Linked DNA regions of Homo sapiens: regions 2 and 3 are each linked to region 1. The links are contacts of gene promoters, found by promoter capture Hi-C in blood cells and fetal thymus (Javierre and others, 2016). All regions are on one chromosome and are shown on one strand. Each heading gives the region's core, a stretch centred on a gene start or on the middle of the fragment in contact. The rest is flanking DNA. Distances are from core to core; before and after follow the strand shown. Region 1 holds the start of OR13D1 (olfactory receptor family 13 subfamily D member 1). Region 2 overlaps GRIN3A (glutamate ionotropic receptor NMDA type subunit 3A). Region 3 overlaps GRIN3A (glutamate ionotropic receptor NMDA type subunit 3A).

Region 1 (4,183 bases), core at 497-2,996:
AGTGAGACTCTGTCTCAAAAGAAAAACAAAGAAAGAAAAGAAAAAGGCAAAGGTGATGAAAAGGACTTTTGTATCATTATTCTTGATCATGCTTTTTTTCATAGCTGTGAAATCGCCTTCTACACATAGAAAACTGAGCAGACCAGGCAGGGTGGCTCATGCCTGTAATCCTAGCAGTTTGGGAGGCCAAGGTGGGAGGATCACTTGAGGCCAGGAGTTCGACACCAGCCTGGCCAATATGATATGAACCCCGTCTCTACTAAAAATACAAAAATTAGCCAGGTGTAGTGGAGCATGCCAGTAATCTCAGCTACTCGGGAGGCTGAGGCAGGAGAATCGCTTGAATGTGGGAGGTGGAGGTTGCAGTGAGCTGAGATCGCGCCATTGCACTCCAGCCCAAGCAACAGAGCAAGATTCCGTCTTAAAAAAAAAAAAAAAAAAAAAAAACAGCGAGAGAAAAGAAAAGAAAACTGAGCAGACCACAATCAAAAGCTACAGGAAAAAGTAAGTGGTCCAGCCTTCAGAGTTCTCCATCACATCACATATGATCAGAATCACAAGTAAATGATGTTTGCTGTCTCACTGTACCCCAACAGAAGATACATTTTTGTAATAGTCTTCTCTTGCGTGGAATCTGTGTAGTAACCACTGAGAGAGAGTAGTGTATGGTGGGTAAAAGGGCTGATTCTATAGCCAGATGGCTAGATATTGAATTCTGGCTTTAGTATTTACTATCTGTATGACCTTGAGAAAGTTACTTAAACTTTTCTTTGTCTCTGTTTCCTACTTTGTAAAATGGCAGTAATACTACACTTAAGAAGAGAGAATCCCAGGGCCTGGAAAAAAAGCTGTACATGCTGGGACCTAGACTCCTTAATCTCTGGAAGCTTCTAGAACAGTCCTCCAATGATTCTCAGACTCCTAACAGGTTTTTGAAAGAAGTGCAATGAAATATCCCACTGAGAACAAAAATGTTCACAGTCTGTCAAGTGTGGTTTCAAACTTTAAACCTTTTACCTTTAAAAAGCTAAATCTACTTTTCCCTTTTAAGATTGGTAGATCTAAATATTATACTATAATTCATAAAATGCATGTGTATAAAAATACATTTAATATTATATCTTGTATAAGGTAAATATAATTATATTACATATATGCATACACACACACACACACACATATGCCATGTTGGAACCATTAGGTTCTAGGCACCTAATATTTTATCTAATTCTAACTATACTCTAAGAAATAATTATTGCTTTTTCCAAGCTTACTATGAACTATCTGCAACTCAGAAAAATAAACAACTTACCAAAGCTACATCCAGGTTAAATGATATGTCACTGGCAGTCTATAAAATCTTTTAAATAGAGGCCAGCTTCATCAAAAAAACAGCTTTAAGTTCAAAATCTCTTTCTACATTTGAAAGCAGCATGTTCCTAAACTTTATTTGACACTTCCCAGAATAATTCTGGCAGTATTGGTAGCTTTGAATGTGCTGCTGTGTAGTCCTAAGATATATTGGGTTTCTCAATGTCTCAATTTTCATAATCAATAAAACTAGTACAATATCCATACTGTTTTGCTTACTGAGAGTATTCTAAGAATCAAACACAATATCGGAAGCAAATTTGTATTGAAAATTTGTAGATGTACAGATTTACAGATTTTGATGTATCAAACATTTCAATTTACCTGAATCATGTCCTTTTCTATACTACCCAGCAGGCAGGTGACCTAGAACACATGGAGACAAGAAATTACTCTGCCATGACTGAATTCTTTCTGGTGGGGCTTTCCCAATATCCAGAGCTCCAGCTTTTTCTGTTCCTGCTCTGCCTCATCATGTACATGATAATCCTCCTGGGAAATAGCCTCCTCATTATCATCACCATCTTGGATTCTCGCCTCCATACTCCCATGTATTTCTTTCTTGGAAACCTCTCATTCTTGGACATCTGTTACACATCCTCATCCATTCCTCCAATGCTTATTATATTTATGTCTGAGAGAAAATCCATCTCCTTCATTGGCTGTGCTCTGCAGATGGTTGTGTCCCTTGGCTTGGGCTCCACTGAGTGTGTCCTCCTGGCTGTGATGGCCTATGACCACTATGTGGCCATCTGCAACCCACTGAGGTACTCCATCATCATGAACGGAGTGCTGTATGTGCAAATGGCTGCATGGTCCTGGATCATAGGCTGTCTGACCTCCCTATTGCAAACAGTTCTGACAATGATGTTGCCTTTCTGTGGGAATAATGTCATTGATCATATTACCTGTGAAATTTTGGCCCTTCTAAAACTTGTTTGTTCAGATATCACCATCAATGTGCTTATCATGACAGTGACAAATATTGTTTCACTGGTGATTCTTCTACTGTTAATTTTCATCTCCTATGTGTTTATTCTCTCTTCCATCCTGAGAATTAATTGTGCTGAGGGAAGAAAGAAAGCCTTCTCTACCTGTTCAGCGCACTCGATTGTGGTCATCTTATTCTACGGTTCAGCCCTTTTTATGTACATGAAACCCAAGTCAAAGAACACTAATACATCTGATGAGATTATTGGGCTGTCTTATGGAGTGGTAAGCCCAATGTTAAATCCCATCATCTATAGCCTCAGGAATAAAGAGGTCAAAGAGGCTGTAAAGAAAGTCCTGAGCAGACATCTGCATTTATTGAAAATGTGAAAAACCTTGGGCATGCGATATCCTCAATGGGGCAAGAGAGCTTGTCTTTTGTATTTAGATACTGCAAAACCTACTGTCACGAGAGCTTGTGTGTTTGCAAAACCAACTATTAGATTCCCATTCTTTTCAACGTAGAATTTTCATGCTCATGTAACCTTCTTAATAGTGCCTTGTCTGCTGGGTTTGTAGCTGTAAGCAGTTCTGCAAACTGGCCCTATAAAAATATTGATGCTGTCCATTAAAATGAATCTCTCTCTCTCACTCAGTCTCTCTCTCTGTCTGTCTCTCTTTCTTCTCTCTCCTGCCATGTGTGTGTCTCTCTCTACTCCTCTGATTTTGTCCTCTCTCTCTATTCTGCTACTCTCTCTCCTCTCCTCCGTATATTTTCTTTCTCTTCCTTTCTTTTCTGTTGTCTCCTTTCTCAGTCACTTTGAAGTGGATATATAGTTGTTGTGCAGCATCCCTGCACAATATTGCCACCCAATTGACAGATCTGCATAATATATATTAATAGAAAGATGTATATTTTTCTTTTAATGAACCAAAGTCCCCCACTCTCAGTCTATGTTGTACATGGTGGGGCTGACCCAAACCTCTGAAAATAAAGATAAGCATGGAAGAGGTCTTGGCAAAAAAAAAAAAAAAAAAGAAAGAAAGAAAGAAAGAAAGAAAGAAAGAAAGAAAGAAAGAAAGAAAGAAAGAAAGGATGTCTAATTCCTCTAGTCATAGTGATTGGTATAGTGCAGGATGTGACCCGAGCCATACTAATTAGACTCCATCCCAGGAATGCTGCCTTTGTCAGAAAGACACACTGTTTTTTGAAATGGTGTCTAAACTGGTAGAATGTTAACTCAGAATTCCTACTGGCAACCATTGCCAATATGTGAGGACAGCATGAGAATGAAAGCAGAGCTGAGATACAGAGTGTGCTTGATGGTGTCACTTTAACTCTTGAACGCAGCTGTAGCTAAAGCCAGATTCACCGTTGCAGATTTTATTTATGAGTCAAATTAGCATTTTATGAAAAACTAATTTGACCTGGATTTTACCACATACGACAAAATAAATCCTAATATATTCCTTTGTCCTATCTTCCTCTCCATCCTCTTACATTTTAAGGCAATAATAATAATAACAAGGTATGTAATCTGAGAGGTTCCAAGTTCTCCAGCCTGTAGGAGTTCCCTTTCTCATTAATAACTAAATTACAATAATCTAACCTCTATTCTGCATTACTTCAGGCATTTCAGTCATCTCCCCAATTATTTCTATGGAGCATTTACGTTTCTAATTTTTTGTTCTCATATTTTTCATCAAATTGATTTATGGACTTCTTACCATTTTTCTCTGTGCTTCAATCAATATATTGGTACTTGAAATAACTGCATTTTGCTTTTCTACATAATGTTTTTTAGTTTAATAAACATTGTCATTTGGTGGATTATGGTAGATTACTGTGTTATATATAAATACATATAAGTAGTAATAAGCC
Region 2 (4,183 bases), core at 1,187-3,686, 3.0 Mb before region 1:
AGAGCCACAAAAATCCCCAGCCACATTGTCCAGTGGAGTGGCCACATGAAGGCTCCAATGGGAGCTGCTGTATCTCGGGTCCTCACTAAGATGCCCAAGCTGGTGGAGAAGAAAGGGCTGGTGAAATCTATCACCTGGCTCCGTGCAGTATTGATGCTAAAGGAAGTGACTGCCATGTGGGCAGTCCCTCTCAGGAGATCACCCACTAGCCCAGTCCAGTGCCCATTTTTCCATGCTCCATACTTTCCATCCCCTACAATATAGAGGTCGAAGTCAAAGTTCATGTCTTCTGCTATCTTTTCCAGCAGATCAATGCAATATCCATAGCAGCACTTCTTGAATTTAATGGGCACTGTATCATTACTGCTATGGAGGCTGCTAAAAAGGCTGTCCAATGTGGAAGAGTCATTAGTCATGGGGTCTAGACAGAGTTGGCCAGCAGGGCACAAGCCTTCATCATCTACCTCCCTTGTGAAGACAAAAGGATGCTCAATCAGGGTAACCACTCTCAAGTGTAGCTTACTTGGATGTTGGAAGTGGGTTTTGTGTCTCTGGGCCTGCTCTGGCCATATTCCATAGTCCATGACAATCTTTCCCCCCTGCCAGCTGCCCAAGCGGGTCCACATTGGCTTTCCCATGGGGTCATGTTGAAGATTCCAGATGAAAAAGTTGTTTTCTGAGCTGACGATGGTGGAACCTTTTACTCTGATGGAACCACTGAGGCCTCTGAAAGTGGTATTGGCTAGAAACCTGGGAAAGAGGAGCAAAGGCAAAAAGTAAGAAAAGCAGTGAGGCCTAAGATAGGAAGCAGTGTTCAGCTTTGCTTCCTTGTCTTAATAAAAATAAATTCGAATTTTTATTTAAAAAGACAGTGCCTATAATTTCTTCAAATGTTAATAAGCTGGACTCATTCTCTATTATAGGAGTAAAGTCCTATTGCACTAAGCAAATGAGATTTCACTCTCAGGTTCTAATATTCTAGCCAGGTGCTTGACTCTTAGTCTTACTCCAAATGTTTTAATTCCTAGTTAAGAGATGTGTTAACCATTTTCTGTTGTAAACTGTTAATTGCATATTCTCACAACTTTTCAAGCTATGGAGGTTTTCAGCATCTTTAACATATCCTATTTCTATTGTTGACTATGTTCAATTGTAACTACACCTTCTATTTATCTATGTATCTATCGATCTATCTAGATATTTGGCACAGGGAATGAGATTAAAAAGTATGCATATACTTTAATAATTGCTTAAACACTGCATTCATAACATTAGAAAATAGCCAAATCTTGTTACCAATGTTTCTTCTTGTGGAATGAAATCAGTTAACATAACTGTCCCCGTGAGGCTAGTTGAAGCTGCATGTTGGATCTCATCCATGGAACAAAGGAAAAGATGATAAATCAACTTGCACTTTTAAGGATAGCCTCAGGCTAGCCTCCCTCCAAGTCATTAGAGAGAAACAATTGGCCCTGGTTCTAGAGAGAGCTTATGCCAGAAGCCACAGAAAGGAAAATTACCAACTAAATAATATAGTGATTCCTAACCCTGTGAACTAGGGCACTTACAGTATATGTTCTGATATGGACTAGACAGAAAAACTAGACTAATATGGCTTGGTCTTAGCCTATGTCTTTTTTGAGTCTGGGAAGATTAGACAGTAAGAGGTAACATATAAGCTTGTGGCATATTAATGGCAATAATAAAGATTAATGTGGCTTGTGGCCTTGTGTTAGAATAAAAGCCCAGGCTTTGGCATCAGATCCACCCCCATTTGAATATTGGTCTAGCCACCTGCTAACATGGCCCTTGAACAATTTACTTGAACAATTTACTTAACTCTATGCTTTAGTTTTGTCACCAGCAAAATAGAGAAAATACTTCCTTCATTACAAGAGTTGGAAATAATTTATGTAAAGCACATGCTACATCTAACTTGGAACAAATATTCCAGATATGGTAACTCTGACTTAATGTCATTCAAGTTTTTTTCAGTCAAGGCTGTCTCCAGGTTACTTTTTCCAATAATTTTAATACAATTTTAAAAGTGGGAAACACAAAGTATTGCATTATGATAAATCCATGGCAGTTACTCAAGACACATTTCAAATTAAAAGAAATTAAATTGAAATGTAGAGTGGAACACAGTAGGTATTTTGAAAAATCAGATGATGTAAGTGTAGGCTCTTAGCAAAACATATTCACCCATTGCCTGTCACAAATATTACTCTATAATTTACAAATACAAATAGAAGAAATAAGACATTATGTTGCCACAGAAGGGACATAGAAAAATCAGAAAGTGTGAAGTACGTACTAATTTTCATTAGAGATATAAATGTAAATCACATTTGAAGATGCTACTATCAATCAATGCAGTGAAACTGTTCATTTTGGAAGATTGTTTGTAATGGTAATTATTCATGTTAGTACTCCCCAGTGGGATTCTACCACTTAAATTCTATTTTGCAACAAGTAATGAAGTCTCAGCTATCTTAGATTTTGAAGTAGTTTTCTGCTTCTTTAGAGAAGGAGCCAAATCATTAAAATATACAGATTAATCAATTGATAATTACCTAGGTACTATAAGGGAAAGCTGATACACTTGTTTATAAGAAATCTACTTTTAGATTTGTTAAAACACACACATATACATACTTGCTGATATAAGAAATAAACAGTTAGTAGTAAGTAGGTTAATTTCTTCTGGTCAATTTACTGATCAGGAAAGTAAAGAGGAAGTTGTGGAAAGAGGAACCCTTCATTATTTTAAGAATGTTTGAGGCTTAATGATTATAGATTCTTAACTGGATGGACCCTTGAGAGAGTACCTTTGACCAAATATATGCTTAAACCATATCAGAAAAAGGCACTAGAAATCTTCAGAAAATTTCCAGAGATTACACAACTCTGTCATTCCAGTAAAACCTATTACTGATTATTGGTATTAAATAACATTTAAGATGGCCATGATAGAGGGACAAGGCCCAGTTGTCTTTGAGCCAGTCATTTTCCAAAGAAGGCAAATCAATAGGGACCTGAATATCTCCAGTTTTCCCAGCCCAGAAAATCCAATGCTTGTTTCACTACTGGCTCCAAAAAATTGGGTCCCAGAGAATCACCATTTATGACAGATTATTTGTGTCTGTTTCATTTTTAGTCTTACGATAAGGGTGAATCAAAATAATCTCATGAAAGCTTTAATTATAGTCACCTGTACTAATGGAATGACAATGCATAGCAAAATATAAATGCTCACTAAATTAGTTAAAATATCAAAAGGCTGAAATCCTGATTTTGCTTAAATTGAATTCCATCACATTCCTTTTTTATCTTGCCCTTTACTCTTCTTGGATAAACAAGGAGAAAAATCAGGAATAGTTTTACTGGCACCATAAACTGACAAACTCCTGGGCACTCTTCCAACTCTAGAGTTACAGGGATGAAAGACAAACTCATTGGTCTCAAGGAGCTCAAGAAGGTCAAAGTCTAATTCTGGGGAGAGAGAAAGTGAGCAGGCAATTCAGACCCGCATAATGGGCATCATGATAGAGGTAAATCTGGTGTCACTGGAACAGAGAGCAAGAGCACCTGCACATTCTACTATAGGGTGCCAAGGAAAGTTTCGTAGAGGAGGAAGTGCCAGAGCTGAGTCTTGAAGAAGGAATTACAGTAAGCCAGGAAGAGAAGCTGGGAAATGATGTTGTCATCTCAAGGAAATACAAATACAAAGGCCAGAGACAGAGAGTGTGAGCTGTTTGACGATAAGAGATGAAAAATAAGGAGGGAGATGAGGATAGGAAATGAATTACATCAGATCTGAGGCTACAGTGAAGACAACAAGGAGGCATTGAGGGGAATTTGTCTGGGGGGAGTCATGATCATTCGATTTAATTTTACAATGATTTTTTTCCTTGCTAGTTATATAGGACATAGTTTGGAAGGAGGAGGGGACTGAACATAAGTCCACATGTGAGGAACAATGCTTCTTCCTTCTTTCTTTTGCTTCCTCTTTTACTCTCTCTCTGCTAGTCTCATAAAGGGCTTAAGGTGGTAAGGGCTAAGGCAGTAGCAGAAATGGAGAGGAGATGGTATAATCAAGAGATATTTTGTTTTCAAAAAGGAAAGCAGTGATTTAAGAGGGCCAAATGTACAGGGTTGCAAACTTTACTAAGAATGTGTG
Region 3 (4,183 bases), core at 988-3,487, 3.0 Mb before region 1:
AATTCATATAATCACACTCACCCCTACAAACAATTCTACTGAGAAATTCCAGATGTTGAAATTAATCCTTACACAAACTTGAGACATATTTCTTCAGAAAATTATTAAATGATAGTTTAGAAGCATCTAATGAGATATTATTGATTTAGCAGCCTCAGATGCAGTGTTTTCCAATTTCTCCCCATATAAGGACAAAGGCACACACATATGCACATGCATACACATGCACACACACACATACACACACACACACACACACACACACACACAAAGATTATGAAAACTTATAACACTAAAATTCAAGCCTGATAGTAAAATTTTTGTCAAAATCCAGGACAAAAATTAAACAAGACCTATTGAGTAAAATTGAAAAGGAAAATCTGTGTCTTACATATGGTTTGTTGTTTGCAAAAGAGCAAGCTCATGGCCTGAAAGAAGATATAAAGATTTTAAAAGTAATTTCCATATTGTTTTTCTCCTAAATCAGAGATCCAGAAACAGAACAACTCAAGAAATAGGAAGCCTGTCTCTATCATGCAGATAGAGTGAAACTGCCTTATAGGTACATTCAATTTATCTATATTAAAATAAACAGGCTCAGAAGAGAGAGGTGGGAGGGAGAAAATATGAATTTAAATAGTACTGATAATTCTCATTCCCTTAAATAAGTGTGCTACTTATTATATTATGGTATATTATTTATATTATCACATACTTTAATGTAGCTATATTATTTTTCATATTGTATACACAAAACCATATATGTCAAGCTAAATAGGTAATTTAAAAGATTTTAAAATGTAATTTTTCTACACTTTGAATTGAATCTTCATTTCTAGTGGAGATGAAACTCCACTCTACTCCATTAATTTTGCAGGTTTTGTTCCATCATAATCTGGTTAGACATTGTTTCAGAGCCTGAAATTTCCAAAAGAATAGGGCAGGAAATATGGCTGGGGAATGTGTGTGCTGCCATGCACTCGTAGAATGAAATCCCAAGTAAGTGCAGAGCTGCAGGGAGAGAGGAGTCACCAAGAAGTTGGTTCAAAGCATCAAAGAATCATTCAGTGGTGTGGGAGAAGATTGCTTAACCCGCTATGGATCAGACTGTAAATATTAAAGTTCCATATACAGAAAAATCAGGCAAGAGTGGTAAAAATATTTGGAAAAAGAAAATGATAGGCCTTGCTTTGGAGGATATTAGAACACATTAGAAAATGTCATTTTTATAAAGCAATAATAATTAAAACAGGGAAGCACTAATAGGTACTAATAGGTACTAATGGAGTATTAAATTACTGTGTTATAAATTAAAATAACAAAGAAATAGGGAAGGAAATAGGATATTAGAATTTGAGAAAATAGATTAGTTAGAAAAATAACAATTAAATTTCTCATTACATCATATATTAAAAATATGTTCCAGGCCATTAAAGAGCTAAAAGTACAATATCAAATCATTAAAAGATAGACCAAAAGGTAAATATGTATCAGAAATTACAATAATAAAAGGAAAACATTGAATTATCACAGCACACCGTATTTTTAGTTTTAAACACCTATCATAAAAAATAAAGGAACATGAAAAACAAGAGAATATTAGTAATAAATTGGGTAGACAAAGAGTTAATGTTCACCAAATGTATAAAACATTTACTAGTCAATAAGGAAATAGAAGCCTTTACTGAACACTTATTCAATCATGAAAAATAATTTTAAGCTCCTACCTTGAGCCATGACCTCTGCATGGCATTTCCTGTTGTCTCTATGGTGGATGAGAGATAGACAATATGTAACTAACTATATGAATAAACACTTCCTATAACTAGAAGTCATGAAAATTACTGTAAATGAAATAATAGGGTCCAGCAAAACTAGGAGAGGAAGAAGAAACTAGGAAATATTAATTTAGTAATTATGATTTGTAGGGGTTGGGAGAGACGAGTATTTGTACTATACAAGCGTTCTTTAATTGGGACTTAAGAAAAAAACGAGATGTATTTGAAAACAATTGATCACTATATAGGTAAATATATATAATGATTTATAAAAGTAAACACATTTAACTAAAAATGTAGTCTCATTTTGACCATCCATTCTTCTTTGACTGGGTACTGTCTTCCTAGTCTCAGATAAATGGTTGGAGCCACCATCTGCTTCTATATTTCCTGTGCGATTCTGCATTGTCCTCTTCAGCAGGTTCTACAGTGTCCTTAAGTTCTAAGTTTTCCTTGCTGGTGGGGCCACTGTCTTCTTCAGCAGTTGGGCTTTTCTGTCCTCTTTTGAGAAGCAGTATAGAGGTTAGGACTTAGTAGTCAGGGCAACCTATGCTTAAGTTCTGTCTCCATGATTTATGCACCATGTGGCCTTTTGTAAGTCATTTAGTATCTCTGAGTCATACCTCCCTCATCTCTAAAATGAGGACAATGCTACTTCCTAACTTATGGATTCATTTTGAGAATTAAATGTAAGAATGTGAGAATGCATGGAAAGTGCCTGGCGCAGAGTGAGGGCCCATAAGTAGTAGTTGTTACAATTGACTTACAGAGTTTAGTCACTGTTGGAAGTGACTGACTGCAATACAGTATTTTTCTTTGCTTTTGCTCCTTCTCCTTTTTCTTGTCTATTTTCATACAATGGTCTCAGCAATAGATATCTTTTACAAACATAAATTACACCAACTTCTCAGCAGGAAAACAGAAGTGCTCTGTAACATATTGGGAGAGGCTGTTTATTTGGGAGATACTATGTTTACAGTAGAGTCCTCCCCACACCCCCAACTCTTCTTTCTTTAGTAACAAGCTCCAGTACCAGTCAGCATGCAAGTTAAGGAATTCTTGGTGCCAACTCCTGGAGATCCCTCATCAGTCTTTGTTCTCTCAGAGAGCACAGATTCTGCTAGTTTGTGGATTAGTAAGAGTTTCAAAAACAGGATTGCCTGCAGGAAAGAGTTTGCCACAGAGCTTTGAGATATTCCCTGACTGAATAAAAGAGGTGATGGGGCTGGGTTTAAGAGAAGAGAAAAGATGCAATTCTCTCAGCTCTTTCCTGGGCAAGGGGAACCAAATGAGCTAGGTCAAAGCCCAAAAAGCTCAAGTGAACATAATGTTTCCACTGCTTTTACCAGAGATGAAATTTCCTTCCTTTCATCCGTCTGCTGATTACTAAATACATTTGAGAGGCTCAGAACAGGCTTTCTACACAGCTATCGCTTCTCCTCAGCCAAAGAGGCTGCAGGAGGTTTTCTGTTTCTCATTATCTCACATCTCATTTGACCTATATTATACAGAAGACTTTTTCTTCTGAAAATTAAAGATTGTTCCTTTAGCAGCCCAGGCTTTTAAATAAATTAACTATTCTTATGGTTACATTAAGGACACAGACAAGCATAAGGTGTAGTCCCTGCCCAGAAATTGTAATTTAATAATAATTATACAAATGAAGAGCTAATACCTACTGATGTCCCTAGTGCCTTATGCATATTATTTTATTTCATCCTCACAATGGCCTCATGAGGTGACTGCAATGATCATCCCCCTTTAATAGAAGACAAAATCAAGGTTCAGAAAAAGTGAGTAATTTTCCCAAGGTGGCACAGCTACTAAGAAATAGAGCTTGGGCCAGGTGTAGTGGCTCATGCCTTTAATTCCAGTGCTTTGGGAGGCTGAGGTGGTAGATCACCTGAGGTCATGAGTTTGAGACCAGCCTGGCTAAGATGGTGAAACCCCATCTCAGCTAAAATATATATATATATATATATATATATATTGCACGGAGGGGTCACACGTGCCTGTAATCCCAGCTACTCAGGAAACTGAGGAACGAGAGTTGCTTGAGTCTGGAGGCAGAGGTTGCAGTGAGTCAAGATTGTGCCACTGCACTTCAGCCTGGGTGCAGAGTGAGACTCTGTCTAAAAGAAAAAAAAAATAGAGCCTGAATTCAAAACCACAATTTGTTGGACTCAAAAGCCTGTGCTTTTACCTATTATTCTATACTGTTCCCTCTACTTGATAAAAGCAACATGTGCAGTAGATCCTTGACATTTGTAGATTTAATAATTTCCAATTATTTGCCAGTAATCCTAAAGGCCCATGGAATAAAGCCACTTGTAAGGTGTCTGAGGCATGAGTTAGAATGACATTCCCTGTGTTTCTGGGCCATGGGAGTCAGGGAGTCTCCAGCC

Evidence for each region. The method cuts DNA at HindIII sites, captures the fragments that hold promoters and counts their contacts. A CHiCAGO score of 5 or more calls a contact.
Region 2: a fragment that was not itself captured here is called in contact with the fragment with the promoter of OR13D1 in region 1 in 2 of 17 cell types (M2 macrophages and endothelial precursors); the score reaches 7.3 in M2 macrophages.
Region 3: a fragment that was not itself captured here is called in contact with the fragment with the promoter of OR13D1 in region 1 in 1 of 17 cell types (endothelial precursors); the score reaches 5.5 in endothelial precursors.

The regions. Positions count from the first base shown.
Region 1 is chr9:104,692,772-104,696,954 of GRCh38, forward strand. It overlaps OR13D1 (olfactory receptor family 13 subfamily D member 1), which reads left to right and starts at 1,747. Exons shown (of 1, transcript NM_001004484.2): 1 at 1,747-2,691. The coding sequence starts at 1,747. The coding sequence ends at 2,691. All of the region lies in intron 1 of LOC107987105 (a long non-coding RNA gene), which reads right to left. The HindIII fragment of the contact is 5,977 bases long and covers 1,268-4,183 here.
Region 2 is chr9:101,670,358-101,674,540 of GRCh38, forward strand. GRIN3A (glutamate ionotropic receptor NMDA type subunit 3A) reads right to left here. Exons shown (of 9, transcript NM_133445.3): 3 at 1-750. Among named protein-coding and RNA genes, the nearest start is that of GRIN3A, 66 kb to the right of the region's middle. The HindIII fragment of the contact is 1,519 bases long and covers 1,678-3,196 here.
Region 3 is chr9:101,689,505-101,693,687 of GRCh38, forward strand. All of the region lies in intron 1 of GRIN3A (glutamate ionotropic receptor NMDA type subunit 3A), which reads right to left. Among named protein-coding and RNA genes, the nearest start is that of GRIN3A, 47 kb to the right of the region's middle. The HindIII fragment of the contact is 5,431 bases long and covers 1-4,183 here.